Linked DNA regions of Homo sapiens: all the other regions are linked to region 4. Evidence: promoter capture Hi-C in 16 types of primary human blood cells and fetal thymus (Javierre and others, 2016). All regions are on one chromosome and are shown on one strand. Each heading gives the region's core, a stretch centred on a gene start or on the middle of the fragment in contact. The rest is flanking DNA. Distances are from core to core; before and after follow the strand shown.

Region 1 (2,700 bases), core at 32-2,531, 790 kb after region 4:
TGAGACCAGGAACCCCACCAGAAGGAAGAAACTCCGAACACATCTGAACATCAGAAAGGACAAACTCCAGTCACGCTGTCTTTAAGAACTGTAACACTCACCTCGAGGGTCCGTGGCTTCATTCTTGAAGTCAGTGAGACCAAGAACCCATCAATTTCGGACACAATAGGTCTCCTCTTCATCCCCTTCTTCTTTTCTCATTACTGTGTCTCAAGTTTAAGATTTCATTGTCTCTCCTTTGGTATCTCTACATCCAACTCCATCCAAGTGCAATCTGTCCTCTATAAAAATTTTTGAAGTCATCTTTTTACATCTCAAGGGTGGTCCAGGTTTTTCTCTTGTTTACATCCTTCAGTGGTTTGCCACTACCTATGTGGGATCAAGTCCATGCTCCTTAGCAGGATGGAGAAGACTGGTCCCCACCCTCGTCTCCAACTGTATTTTATACTCTGCCCCAAGCTCTTACATTTAACTTGCTTGTAAATTAAAGCCCGTGATCAATTTTATTCTTTTTTTTTTTTTTTTTTTTGAGATGGAGTCTGGCTCTTTCGCCCAGGTTGGAGTGCAGTGGCGCCCTCCCGGCTCACTGCAAGCTCCGCCTGCCGGGTTCACGCCATTCTCCTGCCTCAGCCTCCCAAGTATGTGGGACTACAGGTGCCGGCTACGGCGCCCGCTACTGCGCCCTGCTAATTTTTTGTATTTTTAGTAGAGACGAGGTTTTACCGTGTTAGCCAGGATGGTCTGGATCTCCTGACCTCGTGATCCGCCCACCTCGGCCTCCCAAAGTGCTGGGATTACCAGCGTGAGCCACCGTGCCCGGCCTTATTCATTCTTTTAAACTCAGCTCAGGTAATACCTCTTTCCTAAAACTTCTCTTAGTTTTTCTCCACTCCAGATGAGCATTCAACTTCTTCTCTTGCTGTATTATCCTGTATTATTTTGAACACCTATTTTCTCTATGGTTCTTGTTTTCATTTTCATCTTCTCCAAACCTCTTAGCTCCTTGACATCGAAAGCCATACATATTTTTTCCTGTTTCCTTAGCTTGTAGCCTAGCAAAGTTCTGGGACAAATATTGTAAAGCTTGATAAATGATTATAGAAGGATGAACAGATTTATAGATATCTGAGAAATGTTTTTATTTAATAGAGTATTATATTGAAACAATATTACGGGAACTACTGCAAACTGAAACCCAAGCTACTAGTATTTCCACACAAGTCTTTATAAAAAGGCCCACTAACACCTTAACACCTCCTCCCAATGTCTTTGTAATGAGCCTGAAAAAGACTGAGGTCATGGACTGACATCCTTGCTACCACTTTCCCCAGAATGTGCCTGTATGGTTGATATCACCTTTGAATTTTCACCATGCATTTGGGGGAAAAAGAGACTGAAGAGAGTTAATGACATAGCATATGGATAGAAAAAGCAGAGTGGTAACTAGCCAAAGTTAGAGATTTCATCCTCATATTTGAGTAAGCTTACCAAGGTCAGGAAAATTCCACCATGACTACAAATGATCACTGTGGAAAGACTAGAAGATCTAGACTCACCCAGCATATTCATAATTCTTAGATTGAAAGGACCTTTTCATTAACATCTGTATTTATTGTTTGAAAGTGCAGCCAATACCAAAAGTTAAGGAAGGAAGGAAGGAAAGAAAGAAAGAAAAGGAAGGAAGGAGGGAAGCAAAGAAAGAGAAAGAGAAAGGATTACGAAGAATACCAGGTGTGGTGGCTCACACCTGTAAACGCAGCATTTTGGGAGGCCAAAGTAGGTGGATCACCTGCGGTCAGGAGTTTGAGACCAGCCTGGCCAACATAGTGAAACCTTGTCTCTATTAAAAATACAAAAATTAGTCAGGTGAGGTGGCGCACACCTTTAGTCCTAGCTACTCAGGAGGCTGAGGCATGAGAATCGCTTGAACCTGGGAGGCAGATGTTGCAGTGAGCCGAGATGGCACCACTGCACTCCACTCCAGGCTGGGCGACAGGGTGATACTCTGTCTCAAAAAAAAAAATGGAATATGAAGAAAGAGTTAAATTTAGGCTGAAGTTATTATATAGCACCAAGAGATTTAATCATTAATAATAACTAATACTTTTTAAATTGTTTGAAAAGTACTCATTTTTTTCTCCTATTTTTAACTTTTAACAGGTATGCTTGTAAGCCATATATTATTTAACTTTTAAGTATTATGGAGTATTAAAATGCAAATTGAAAACAAAAATATCAGACCTTGCACTCAAAGAATTTCAAATGAATTTAAGATGACTGAGACACACACACACACACATAACAAGAAGATGGTATAATATAGAATATTTTTCTTGCAGGAAAAGCCTTGAAAATTTTTGGAGTACATATAGTAAGAATGCACTTCACTGCAGCAAAAGTAAGTGTGGCTTTGAACAAAAGTTTGCTTCAGTATAGCTGTTATGTGACACCTAGTAGCTCTGTGGTTTTTGTGGACACGTAAAATCTGCTGAACTCTGAAAAGCATTTCCACAGTAGTCTATTTTACATAAGTACACTGGTGCCAGACATTTAACGCTAACCACAGAGTGAAAAAGGCAGCATGCATATAAATATATAAATAAAAATTGATATGTAAATAATCATAATCACATCACTACAAACCACATGTTTTTCATAAAATATCTTAATTTTCAAATTGGCAGGCTGATCACTTGTAAT
Region 2 (2,700 bases), core at 101-2,600, 950 kb after region 4:
AGAACAAAAAGCTTCCTTTTCTCTATGTCCCAAATTAAGACTGAAATTCATAAGCCCCCAAAAGCAATTTGTTGTCATTTTTCATAAGACTTACATAATATTAAAATATGCACCTATCTTCAGTAGCTATTATCCAAAAAGTATATAAATAAAGACAAAGTTAGAGGCAAAAGTTACTATCAAGCTGTAGTAATCCAGACAGTGTGGTAAAAATAAGGATCCACAGATGAATGGAATAGAATAAAGAACGTAGATATACACTTGCACTTACATAGACATTTGCTTTTTAACAAAGCCAATGAGGAAAGAAAAGTCCCTTGGAATACTAAATATCCATATTTTAACAAAACCCCTTGACTCACACCTCATACTATACAGAAAAATCAATTTTGGATCATAGACCTAAACATAAAAGCTAAAACCATAAAACCTTTAAAGGGAAATAGAATATTTTTATGACTTGGGGATAAGCAAAGGTACCATCAGGTACAGAAAGTAAAATCATTTAAGAAAAAATTGATAAATTATATTTCTTCAAAATTAAAAGTTTCTGCTAATTAAAATGAACATTAAGAAATAAGCTAAGACTGGAAGAAATATTCACAAAGAAATATTCACAAATAAAGCTAAGACTGGAAGAAATATTCACACCTGACAAAGGACGGGTATGCAGAATACATAGAGTACTCCTACAACTCAGCAATAGAAAGTCAAATAACCTAATTAAAACTGGGCAAAGTATTTGAATAGACAATTTATAAAAAAAGAAGTACAAATTGCCAATAAAATCATTAAAGAGTATACGATGTCAACTGTCACTATGGAAATACATATTAAAACCAGGAGACAAGACACTACCACCAGAATGACTATAATTTAGAAAGATAAACATTACCAAATGCTAGTGATGTTATAGAAAAACTGGACCTCTCATACATTTTTTGTAAGGATTGTATAATGCCACAACTAAATGCTAAATGCTAAAACTAAAGATATCCCTACACTATGGCCCAGCATTTTCACTAATAAGCATCTACTAAAGGGAAATAAAAGCATATATTCACAAAAAGACATATCCAAGAATATTCATAGCAGCTTTGTTCAGAAAAGCCTCAAAAAGGAAATAGCTCACATGTTCAGTTAGAGATTGGATAAACAAACTATGGCATATATAGTGAAATACTCCTCTATAATACAAATAAATGAATTATACATTGCATTCAACATGAAGGCTTAGTGAAAGAAGATTTAAACAAAAGGGTACATACTTTGTGACTCCACTTATAAGAAAGCCTAGAACAAACAAAACCAATCTGCAGTGGAAAAAAAAATAACATTGGTTGCCTCTGGAGAGTTGTTGGGGTAGGAATTTACTGTGAAGGTTATGAGAACTTTCTTACAGGAAGGTCACGTTCTATATCGTGATATGGGTTTGACTGTGTACAGATGTATGTATTTGTCAAAACTCAGTGAATATACACTTAAGAGTTGTACATTGTAGTATATGTACATTTCACATAAACACACACAAATATTGAACTCTAAAGTGCTTACATAAATAAAAGAGATTTAATGGATGGGGGATGGATTGATGGATGGATATGATAAAGCAAGTATACTAAACTGTTAATAGTAGGACCTTGTGGAAGATATACAGGTACTCATTTAAAATTCTTTCAATTTTGCTTTATGTTTGAAAATTTTTATAATGTTCAAAGAAAAATATCAAAAACAACAACAGAAATTAGTTTGTTCATGTTTCAGATAAAATGACATTTTACTGACAGAGACTGCCAGAATATTATTTTGGTTTGACATTACTAAGTAGTTTGTCTACTTATGCCAGAGTTGGAATGATTAATTAAAATACCCTTAACATACATAATAATGTGGTTTGAAACATTTATGAAACAATAATCTCAAAACTGAGGAATATGCTAATATTCACACTGAAAACTGAGGAATATGCTAATACTCACAACTTGACATGTAATTTGAATGTCTATATGTTTTAAAAATCTAGAATTTTGAGAAATTTGGATTTTTAATCCATATTAATCTGTATGAAGTTAACTCCCAACTATAACAAATTTAGCATATCAATAATTAACTTCTCAACATACATACAGTACAATAAATACTATAAATATATAACAGTCTTGAATAACTAAGCAATAGGTAACATTTTCAACACTAAGTAAACTTGAATAATAAAATGTTTTAGGGGCTGCATAGAGCTATGTATATGGATAAACAGATGCCTTTTATTCTAACACAAATTTGCTCTGAGGGATAGGCTTATTTTTATTGACAAGTTATCAATTTTCTCAGGATTTTAATAAAATCTTCATTTTTACAATATTTTTTCATTTTATTTACTTTTTATTTAAAACAAAATAGATTCCTAAGCAAATTAACACAAGATTTTTTTCCACTTTAGAGTACCTACTTTAAATTGTTTAATTTTAATTTTATTTAAATGTGTTCATTGGATCACATTTTACTAGAAACTAATTTGTTAAGGCCCAGATAACATGTGATAATACTGCAAAACTAATTTATTTTTCTTCATCCTCCCTTCTTACCCATTGATTTTTTTTTTCTTTTAAAATTAAGAAAGAATCAGAGTACTTTATCTGTCCTCTTCTTGTTCAAAACCCAAATGCTGCTGCGGATCATTTTGAAGGAAGGAAGCTTATA
Region 3 (2,700 bases), core at 10-2,509, 820 kb after region 4:
GGTGGGAGTGAATCCTGAGAAGACTCATGGTTGTCTTGCATGGCAATTGCAACTGCTTTAGTGGAGGCCACTGCAATTTCCTCAGCTAATGCAGTGAATCTCCTCAGATGGGAATGGAGAGGCAGCTCTCAGTCAAGGTGGAGTGGCTTCTCCTACTGGGGTTCACGAGGGACCCCATTGACATTTAGGGGTTCAATGGCACTGAGGTTCATCAGGGCCTTCCCACACGGGCCCATGCCAACTTTCAGGATACCATTCCTTCCCAATCAATATCCTCACTTTAACAGTTCATACTTAACAAGGCTGGGAGTTCAACTTGCATTGTAATTCAGCAAGTCACAGAATGAGAATCTGGATTTGATTCTCAGCAATCTCAGCCCTGCAGCTACCAGAGCTAAGGGTCTTTTTCAGGGCACACATAGAAGCTTTTAGGTCATTTATGCAGCACTTGAGTTGGAAACTCAAATGCCTGAGCTCGTCGTTTTCTTTTCTTTTCTTTCTCCACTATGTTCAGTGACATTAGAAGCAACCAGCCCATCTCATTATACTCATTAGTTTGCCAAAAATATTTCAAAGTATCTTATACATAGTTAAACAGATTCTTGCTTCTTGTAAGTAGTTGAGTATCCAATGGTGATATTTTGTGTTTCTCCATTGTTACATCATGCCATGAACTATTAGTGCTCTTTTTACTACTGAAAATAAAATCATTAGTGTTTATAAATTTAATCAGCTTAGAGATCCAATTCCAGATATCCCAGAACTAATTCCTAAAACTCATCCTTAAAATTCTGTTCTTCTGGAATCACTCTTAGTGCCAAAATTTGTATTAGTTACCATCCTATATAAACAAATAGAACCAATAGGATGTATATATTCACAGAGAAAAAGATCTATTTATCTGGGTGAGAGAGAGATTTATTATAAAGAATTACCTCACACGATTATACAGAATGACAAGTCCCGAGAGGTGCAGTCAGCAAGCTGGAGACACAGAAGAGTTGGTGGTATCATTTCAGTGAGTCTGAAGGCCTGAAAACCAGGCAAACCAATCACGTGGCTTCATTCCAATTACTGATAGGCTCAAGACCCAGGAAGAGCCAATGTTTCAGCTTGATTTTGAAGGCAGAAAGAAACCAATGTCCCAGCACAAGGCAGTCAGGCGGTAGAAGACTGTCCCTTACTTTTGGAAGGGTCAGCCTTTTTATTCTATTCAAGTCTTCATCTGATTGGATGGGCCCCCCACACCCCACATTAGGGAGGGCAATCTGCTTTACTCAGTCTTCTGATTCAAGTGTTAATCTCATCCAAAACACGCTCATAGACATACTCCTAAATAATGTTTGACCAATATCCAGACACCCATGGCAAGCTGACACATAAAATTAACCATCAGAGATAGTAAAGAAGTTTGCTGCACTTAGGAGCTGGGCAGATAATTTCCTCCTTTCTTTCATTGACAGTAGTCTAAACATCACAAATTCCTCTTTGGAATAATGTTTTCTAGGCCTTTCTATGTTATAACACAAGCCATACTAGTGATAATAAGCAGTTCATTTTATTATAATGTTGTTTATAGGTTTTATATTCTACTCTTAAACCATTAAACAGTGCTACCTTGTGTTTAGCATATGTAAGAATTATAGTAAGAAACTGTATAATCATTTACCCTGATGATTATTTAGAGACAACATCTCCCCCTCTTCATTTTTGTTCACTTTCACTTGCCATTTTTCTGAATCTGCTCTGAATTCAGAAGTGGTTTTTTTCAGAAAGTGTTTTTCTTTGAAGCATTTTGAGCTTTGGATTTTCTCTGTTCTCTTGCTTCTCAATCAATTTAATACAATCTACTTTTCATCATTCATAAATCAACCTGTCCCTTGTCCGGAAATTCCTCAAGATATCTTATCTGCTCATAGTTTCCTTTCTTTCCTTTTAAGGCTACTATGAATTTCTTCTCAGTTATTAAGGTATTTGGTACACAGAAAAAGTTGTAATGAGGAGGTGTGTGGAAAATATGTTTCTAATAGGAAAGAGACAGACTAAACAAGCAGTCAGAAATAGAGGAAACAGAGATGATGCAGAAATAGAAGAAAGCTTTAACAAATTATAATAGTTGGCTGGGCACAGTGGCTCATGCCTGTAATCCCAGCACTTTGGGAGGCTGAAGTGGGCAGATCATGAGGTCAGGAGTTGTAGACCAGCCTGGCCAACATGGTGAAACCCCATCTCTACTAAAAATACAAAAGTTAGCCAGGTGTGGTGGTAGGCGCCTGTAATCCCAGCTACTTGGGAGGCTGAGGCAAGAGAATCACTTAAAACCCAAGGCGGAGTTTGCAGTGAGCCGAGATCATGCCACTGCACTCCAGCCTGGGTGGAAGGGTGAAACTCTGTCTCAAAAAAAAAAAATTATAATAGTCACAGAGAGATAACAGAATATATTGTAATCATAGACCTCAAATGGGATCCTATTAAAAGTAAATGTTCTGAAAAGAATAAAGGTGTCTTAGAAATTCAAAGCAGGATAAAGTTAGTGTAGGAGAGTATATTATCAAAGCAATAATACAATATAACATAATATATATTACATTTATTTTTCTGAAGGTCTCTCTTCTCCGGCCTCTTTTCTCTTTCTCCAATCTGAACTTATATTTCTTCAGGTCTAATACAGCAGTCATCCTGTGATATCTCTTTGCTTTG
Region 4 (2,700 bases), core at 133-2,632:
AGAGACTAAATCTTCTCACTTACATGTCTTCCTAATGTTTCCTTACTTCATCTTCCCATATCGAGAATAACTTGAGGAGAAGCAAAACAATTATATCTTGCATATTACTACGTCATTCTTAAGAAAGTTTTCTTGAACAGACTCTCAGCTAACTTTTAGCAGCAGCAGCAGCATTATCAGTGGCTATGAGGGCTTGGATATCTCAGGAGGGGAAAAATGGGAAAGGCTGGCCTGATTATCATAAATAATAATCCTTGAGACATGATTCATAAATCCAGAAGTGGCTAATAATATTGACATTATTGTTATAGTGTCAATATTATTAGCCACTTCTGGATTTCTTCCATATCAGAGATAATATTTATGAAAAAAAAAATGCTACCATTATTTTTATCCTGTGGAAGGCAGTGTTGCTTTAAACAGTAGAGACTATATACAGGTACGCACGCATAGGTTGTATTTTCCATTTTATACATGCAAGGATTCTTTAAATAATTCATTACATTTTTTCTTTAACATGATATGCAGTTTTTCACAAAAAGCCCAAATAAACGGCTGTGAGGAATTCTAATAGGATCACCGTATAGCCATGACACTTTATGATTCATGATTTACAAGAAATTAAGAAATAGAGCTGGAGACATTTAGACCAGCCTACAAATTTGTGTGTGTGTGTGTGTGTGTGTGTGTGTGTGTGTGTTTTAATGTTTCCAGGCAAGAACCTTAAACAAAAAGTGTAGCATTAAAAAACTTCCCTTCGTCCTCGAGACCCCCCCAACTCTAGACACTGGATCCCCGGAGACCCACGCTGGGTCGTCGGAGTCTGGAGCCGGGGGCGGCAGGTGAGCGGCTAGGGTCCTGCAGGGGTCTGCGCGGTGCGGGGGAGGTCGCCGAGTCAGTCAGTGCCGAAAGGACCGCGAACTCCAGGGGCCAACAATCACCGGGTACGGAACTCAACGTTTCCGCCAGTTCCTGGATTACTCGAGTAAAAACAAACAAACAACAACAACAACAACAACAAAAATACTAACAGCAATGGGACCGTAATAAATCAACTCGGAGTGGGTACAGGCGGTTCCGGGACAACCCACACTTAGTCTAGGAGCCCGGAGATCCCTCATCCAGCTTTCCCCGGGGCAAGGGGTGAAGCGCTAAGCAAGGCTGATCACTGTCCTCAATCATCACCCAACCCGCGCACAGAAGCCGTGGCCCCACGCTCTCCTATCCCCGCCAGCTCCAGACTCGCCCCGCTGCCAACTCCCGGTGCAGGAGGAACTGGCAGCCGCAGACGTGAGGAAAGCGGCCGCGGCTTCAAACTCCGTAGTGCGCAGGCGCCACACAACGCGCAGGCGCCGCCTAGAAGTGACTTCTCCAAAAAGTGTGTTAGTTCCCGGTCACCTGAGCTCCGGGTGACGCGGCTGCGGTAGCTGCGGATACAAGCCTTCCGCGGGTCCTGCCTGGCGACCCCGACCTCCTCCTGCTGTCTCTCCGCTCCGCCACCCCGAACCCGCCAAGGTCCTGTCCTTTTCCTCCTGTCCTTTGCCAGCGTTGGGCCGGACCGGGCCGAGCCGGGCCGCCCGGGCGCAGTCTTTAACCATGGCGTCCCTCTTCAAGAAGAAAACCGTGGATGGTGAGTTCCAGGCCGGGCTGAAGGGGCCCAGCTCTGCGTTTTCTCGGCGTCTTTCGAGGCCTGCTGGCCGCGATTCTGCCTACTGTCCCTGGAGGCGGGGCTGGATCAAGTGGTCCCACAGGTGACCGCCCTCGCGGCACCACTTCTCTGCCTCCCTCTTGCTTCTGACTCACCTCACCTTAGGCTCACCTAGGCAGTCTGGTTGCTTCCCTATCCTCACGATTCCCCCACCCTCGGGTTTTCCTCAGCAGGATCCTGAGCGTTTCGAGGAGGCTAGCTGGCCCTTGAGTGTCAATAAACTTGGAAATCTGATGGATTTCTTGTTGGTTTCCTCTGCTTCGATTGTTGCTCTTCAGTTGGGCGATATACTACTTGTAGGCATCCATACAGGAAACTGGCAGTCTCGGAATGGGGAGGGAGGGGATAACAGGCTCCAGTTAGGAAATGAAGTTGGGTCTGGGTCAGTTGCTTCTTTAAGAACACCCCATCAGTAAAGAGATGTGAAACAAATGCTTTTTTGATTAACCCCAGTAGAAAAATAAACCCAAGGGAAGTGCCCAGATTTAGTTTTCATAATGGATTTTTCTCCCTTATGATTATTTTTTGCCAACTAAAGAAAGAGATGGGGTATATATTGTCTTCATAGAAGTTTAACATGTAAAGATAATTGTGTTGTTTCCCGCATTTAGCTTAATATCATCTTAAGCGGGGAAAAAAGTGAATGTAAAGGAATGTACAAGTTTTATGGTGCTCATATGCGATGCCTATAATGTGTTTATATAACACTTGATGTTTTCATTGATTGCTACCAGGAATTAAATTCATTCAAGTTATTTAAAAATTGTGTTCCCCATTATATGTTTAGTCTAGGTTGTTGCTGGTTCAACCAAAGAATCACTTCTTTGTAAGGGTCTAATTCTGCCACAAAAGGAGCAGTGGTAGCTAGACAGTGATTGGTACAAATAGGGTGCTCAGTCCAGACCTGGACGTAACTCCTTCATTCCTTTGTGTTGACTATTCCAATGCCAGCAAAATTATTTTGGGGAGGATAACAAAGAAGTCATCTCTGC
Region 5 (2,700 bases), core at 47-2,546, 770 kb after region 4:
TATGATTATGGATGATTATGGTACAAGCACTATCAGGTTGACCAAACATAGAAATGCCAACCCTTTAACACTGCCCAAATTTACAGCAAGCACCTGAGAACCACACCAATCACAGGAAACACACTATATGTTGACTCTAGCAACTGAACTGGACTCCCCTTGTTCTCCAAGAAGCCTGTTTGTCATGGTTGTCCCTCTGTCCACAAACTTGTGCTGTCATTACATATACTACAAAAAAAGGGACTAAAAGGTAAATTGCAAGTTCATAGATTTATTTATTATGTTTCTATTCACTTCAGTGTTTCAGAATATGAAACTGAACTCAACAATGACTCTTTGTGTTAAGCTTTGGGGTTTTTTCCTATTTTATCATCCTATCAATCTAAAGGTTTAAATACTATCTATTCTGCTTGCCATACTTACACAAAAATAACTTCAATTATAAATGCATGCATATATTAGGAATCGACTATCCTTTTCCCTGCTCTTATTAGTATATCATATGCAAAATATTTAGAGGCTCAGGTTGAAGAATAGATTTCTTATATTTGTATTTTCTATTGAGTATTGTCTGAACGAGACTTGTGTATGTATGCTATTAAACCTGAGCCAAAATTTAAATGCATTTTCTTTCTCAAAATCTTCCCATTAATGAAAAATAATATGTAGTAGTTTTTTTATTTAAAAAAAGACAAGAAAAAACAGTCAAGTTTATTTTAACAATTTTAATACCAATTGCCCAAACTATAGAAAATGTTCAAACATGAATTTTAGTAGTCTATGAAGTATAATCTACTCAGTTTGTTGCTGTTGTTGAGGGTGGAAAAAAATAAATGTATGGTGGAATTTAATGTTGCTTAGCCCAAAAATATAGTATAATATGAAATAAACCATGTTCTTCAAATAACGAGTGTTGGCTTTAACTTAATGATTTCAAAACATCCTATAGCATCCTATTAAGAAAACTACAAAGGAAGAATAATGGTGTGCAGTAGACATGAATTTTAAGTGTCCACGTGTTTGTCCAAAGTGTTTGTGGCAGCCTGAACTTTAAAAGGAGTCTCCTTCATTTGACCATGAAACCTACCATAACTTCACCTCTGGTCCTTCACCTCACTTCACTAAAATCAAAAGAGTTAGCATTCTCATTTTTAAAACTCAACATAGAACAAAGACAATTCCTTTTATTTTTCTGAAATTAAAATTCAGTAAATGTAGTTACTGAAATATCATTATTAATAATATTCTAGACAATTCCTTTTTTAATTTTTAAAAAATAAGTAGACATGGTTACTGAAATATTGTTATTAAATAATATTCTGAGTTCCAATCTTGCAAGAACAGTTTTGAATGTAATCACCTAGAATTATGTATTAAATTTTGAGAAATAGTTTCCTTCAACTTTTCCTTCCCAAAATAAATCTTGACAGAGACAAAACGAAAAAAATTGTTGGCATTTAAGAGAATGAGAAGAAAAGGTTATAATGAATGCTCTTTGAATAGGTATGTTTGCAGGTATTCAATAGAGAAAGTTATACCTTCATTAATTATTAAGGGAACTATGTTTAAAAAAACTATTTTAAAGCAAATCTTTGCACCTATTCCCAAATATTTGTGAACAGGTAATTGTACTTCCTCGAGAAAAGTGAGTTCTTTTTGCTTTTATGTTTCTTTGTATCCCCCTTTTCTCCTCTCTCCTCCTCCTCCTTTTTGATTACAGTATCACTCTAGTATATACAGCTGCGATTTAGAGGGTGGCGCTTTGGAAGGTTCTTGCGACTTGATTGCTGAGATGTTAAATGGACTATTTACCTCTGCAGGCACAAAACCCACAACCACATCTGCCCCGTAGCGCTAGCGTTGGCGGTAGTGTTCTTTCGAAGGAGGTTGTGGGCTTGGAGCTTAGAGCATGCGCAGTAACAGGAGCCTCACGGATTCCCTAACTACGCTGACCCCTACCCTTCACATCAGCGACTGGGTTCATGCAGAAGTAAACTGACTGTAGAATAACTGGACTGTTTATTGCCTATTACTCAGCTTGCTGGTAACCATTATGCCGTACAGTGGTTCTCTTTGTTGAATCTTCAGAGCAAATTGTATCTTGTACGTTGTCAGCTTAGCTCAGCTGAATTTAATTTTGTGATACTAGCACAAATGTAATACCACGTTTACCTGTTTAAAGATAGAGGTGTCCATATCACGTCTTGACACAGCTCCAGAAACATCCAACAGGTGTCAACTAAGATAGAAGCTTTCTAGTTGACCTATACCCCCCGCCAAAAAACCTCTCTTTTTCTTTTATTCAGGAATAGGATTTACAGTACAGGTTTTTCTAACTTTTGTCCAAGTATTCGGGGAAAAGAATAAGACAAATGATTTCTTAGGGACATGGCAGGAAACAGGATTTGGATAAATTTCTTACTCAGAAAAAATTCCACCAAACTTTTAAGAATATTTTCCTCTTTTTTTCTATTTTTTTTCTTTTTCTTGTGTAATGATTTGTAATTTGGCGAACCTCAAACTTTCACTTCAAGTTATCCTCGTTCACTGGAGTTCCCGGATCTAATGCTTGTTTTATTCCACAAGTTCTAAAAAGTTCTCAGTTAATGTCTTCAAATACAGCTTCTACCTCATGTTCTATCTCTATCTCTCTTCTTCTATAATCCCAACTGGATAAATATTAGACCGTCTTATTCTTTC

Evidence for each region. The method cuts DNA at HindIII sites, captures the fragments that hold promoters and counts their contacts. A CHiCAGO score of 5 or more calls a contact.
Region 1: a fragment that was not itself captured here is called in contact with the fragment with the promoter of CHMP2B in region 4 in 8 of 17 cell types (naive B cells, total B cells, naive CD8 T cells and 5 more); the score reaches 9.6 in naive B cells.
Region 2: a fragment that was not itself captured here is called in contact with the fragment with the promoter of CHMP2B in region 4 in 9 of 17 cell types (total CD4 T cells, naive CD4 T cells, activated CD4 T cells and 6 more); the score reaches 11.7 in total CD4 T cells.
Region 3: a fragment that was not itself captured here is called in contact with the fragment with the promoter of CHMP2B in region 4 in 6 of 17 cell types (non-activated CD4 T cells, activated CD4 T cells, fetal thymus and 3 more); the score reaches 6.9 in non-activated CD4 T cells.
Region 5: a contact is called between a fragment that was not itself captured here and the fragment with the promoter of CHMP2B in region 4, in 13 of 17 cell types (M0 macrophages, monocytes, total CD4 T cells and 10 more). The highest score is 9.7, in M0 macrophages.

What each region holds. Positions count from the first base shown.
Region 1 is chr3:88,016,723-88,019,422 of GRCh38, forward strand. No RefSeq gene overlaps it. Among named protein-coding and RNA genes, the nearest start is that of CGGBP1, 41 kb to the right of the region's middle. RefSeq lists a silencer at 2,393-2,442. The HindIII fragment of the contact is 400 bases long and covers 1,082-1,481 here.
Region 2 is chr3:88,177,851-88,180,550 of GRCh38, forward strand. No RefSeq gene overlaps it. Among named protein-coding and RNA genes, the nearest start is that of C3orf38, 29 kb to the left of the region's middle. The HindIII fragment of the contact is 2,683 bases long and covers 10-2,692 here.
Region 3 is chr3:88,042,682-88,045,381 of GRCh38, forward strand. No RefSeq gene overlaps it. Among named protein-coding and RNA genes, the nearest start is that of CGGBP1, 15 kb to the right of the region's middle. The HindIII fragment of the contact is 1,672 bases long and covers 424-2,095 here.
Region 4 is chr3:87,225,927-87,228,626 of GRCh38, forward strand. It overlaps CHMP2B (charged multivesicular body protein 2B), which reads left to right and starts at 1,383. Exons shown (of 6, transcript NM_014043.4): 1 at 1,383-1,630. The coding sequence starts at 1,597. It overlaps MIR4795 (microRNA 4795), which reads right to left and starts at 351; the gene lies at 263-351. RefSeq lists enhancers at 835-974, 1,085-1,144, 1,235-1,284, 1,335-1,404, 1,475-1,594. The HindIII fragment of the contact is 8,756 bases long and covers 1-2,700 here.
Region 5 is chr3:87,999,168-88,001,867 of GRCh38, forward strand. No RefSeq gene overlaps it. Among named protein-coding and RNA genes, the nearest start is that of CGGBP1, 58 kb to the right of the region's middle. The HindIII fragment of the contact is 1,905 bases long and covers 345-2,249 here.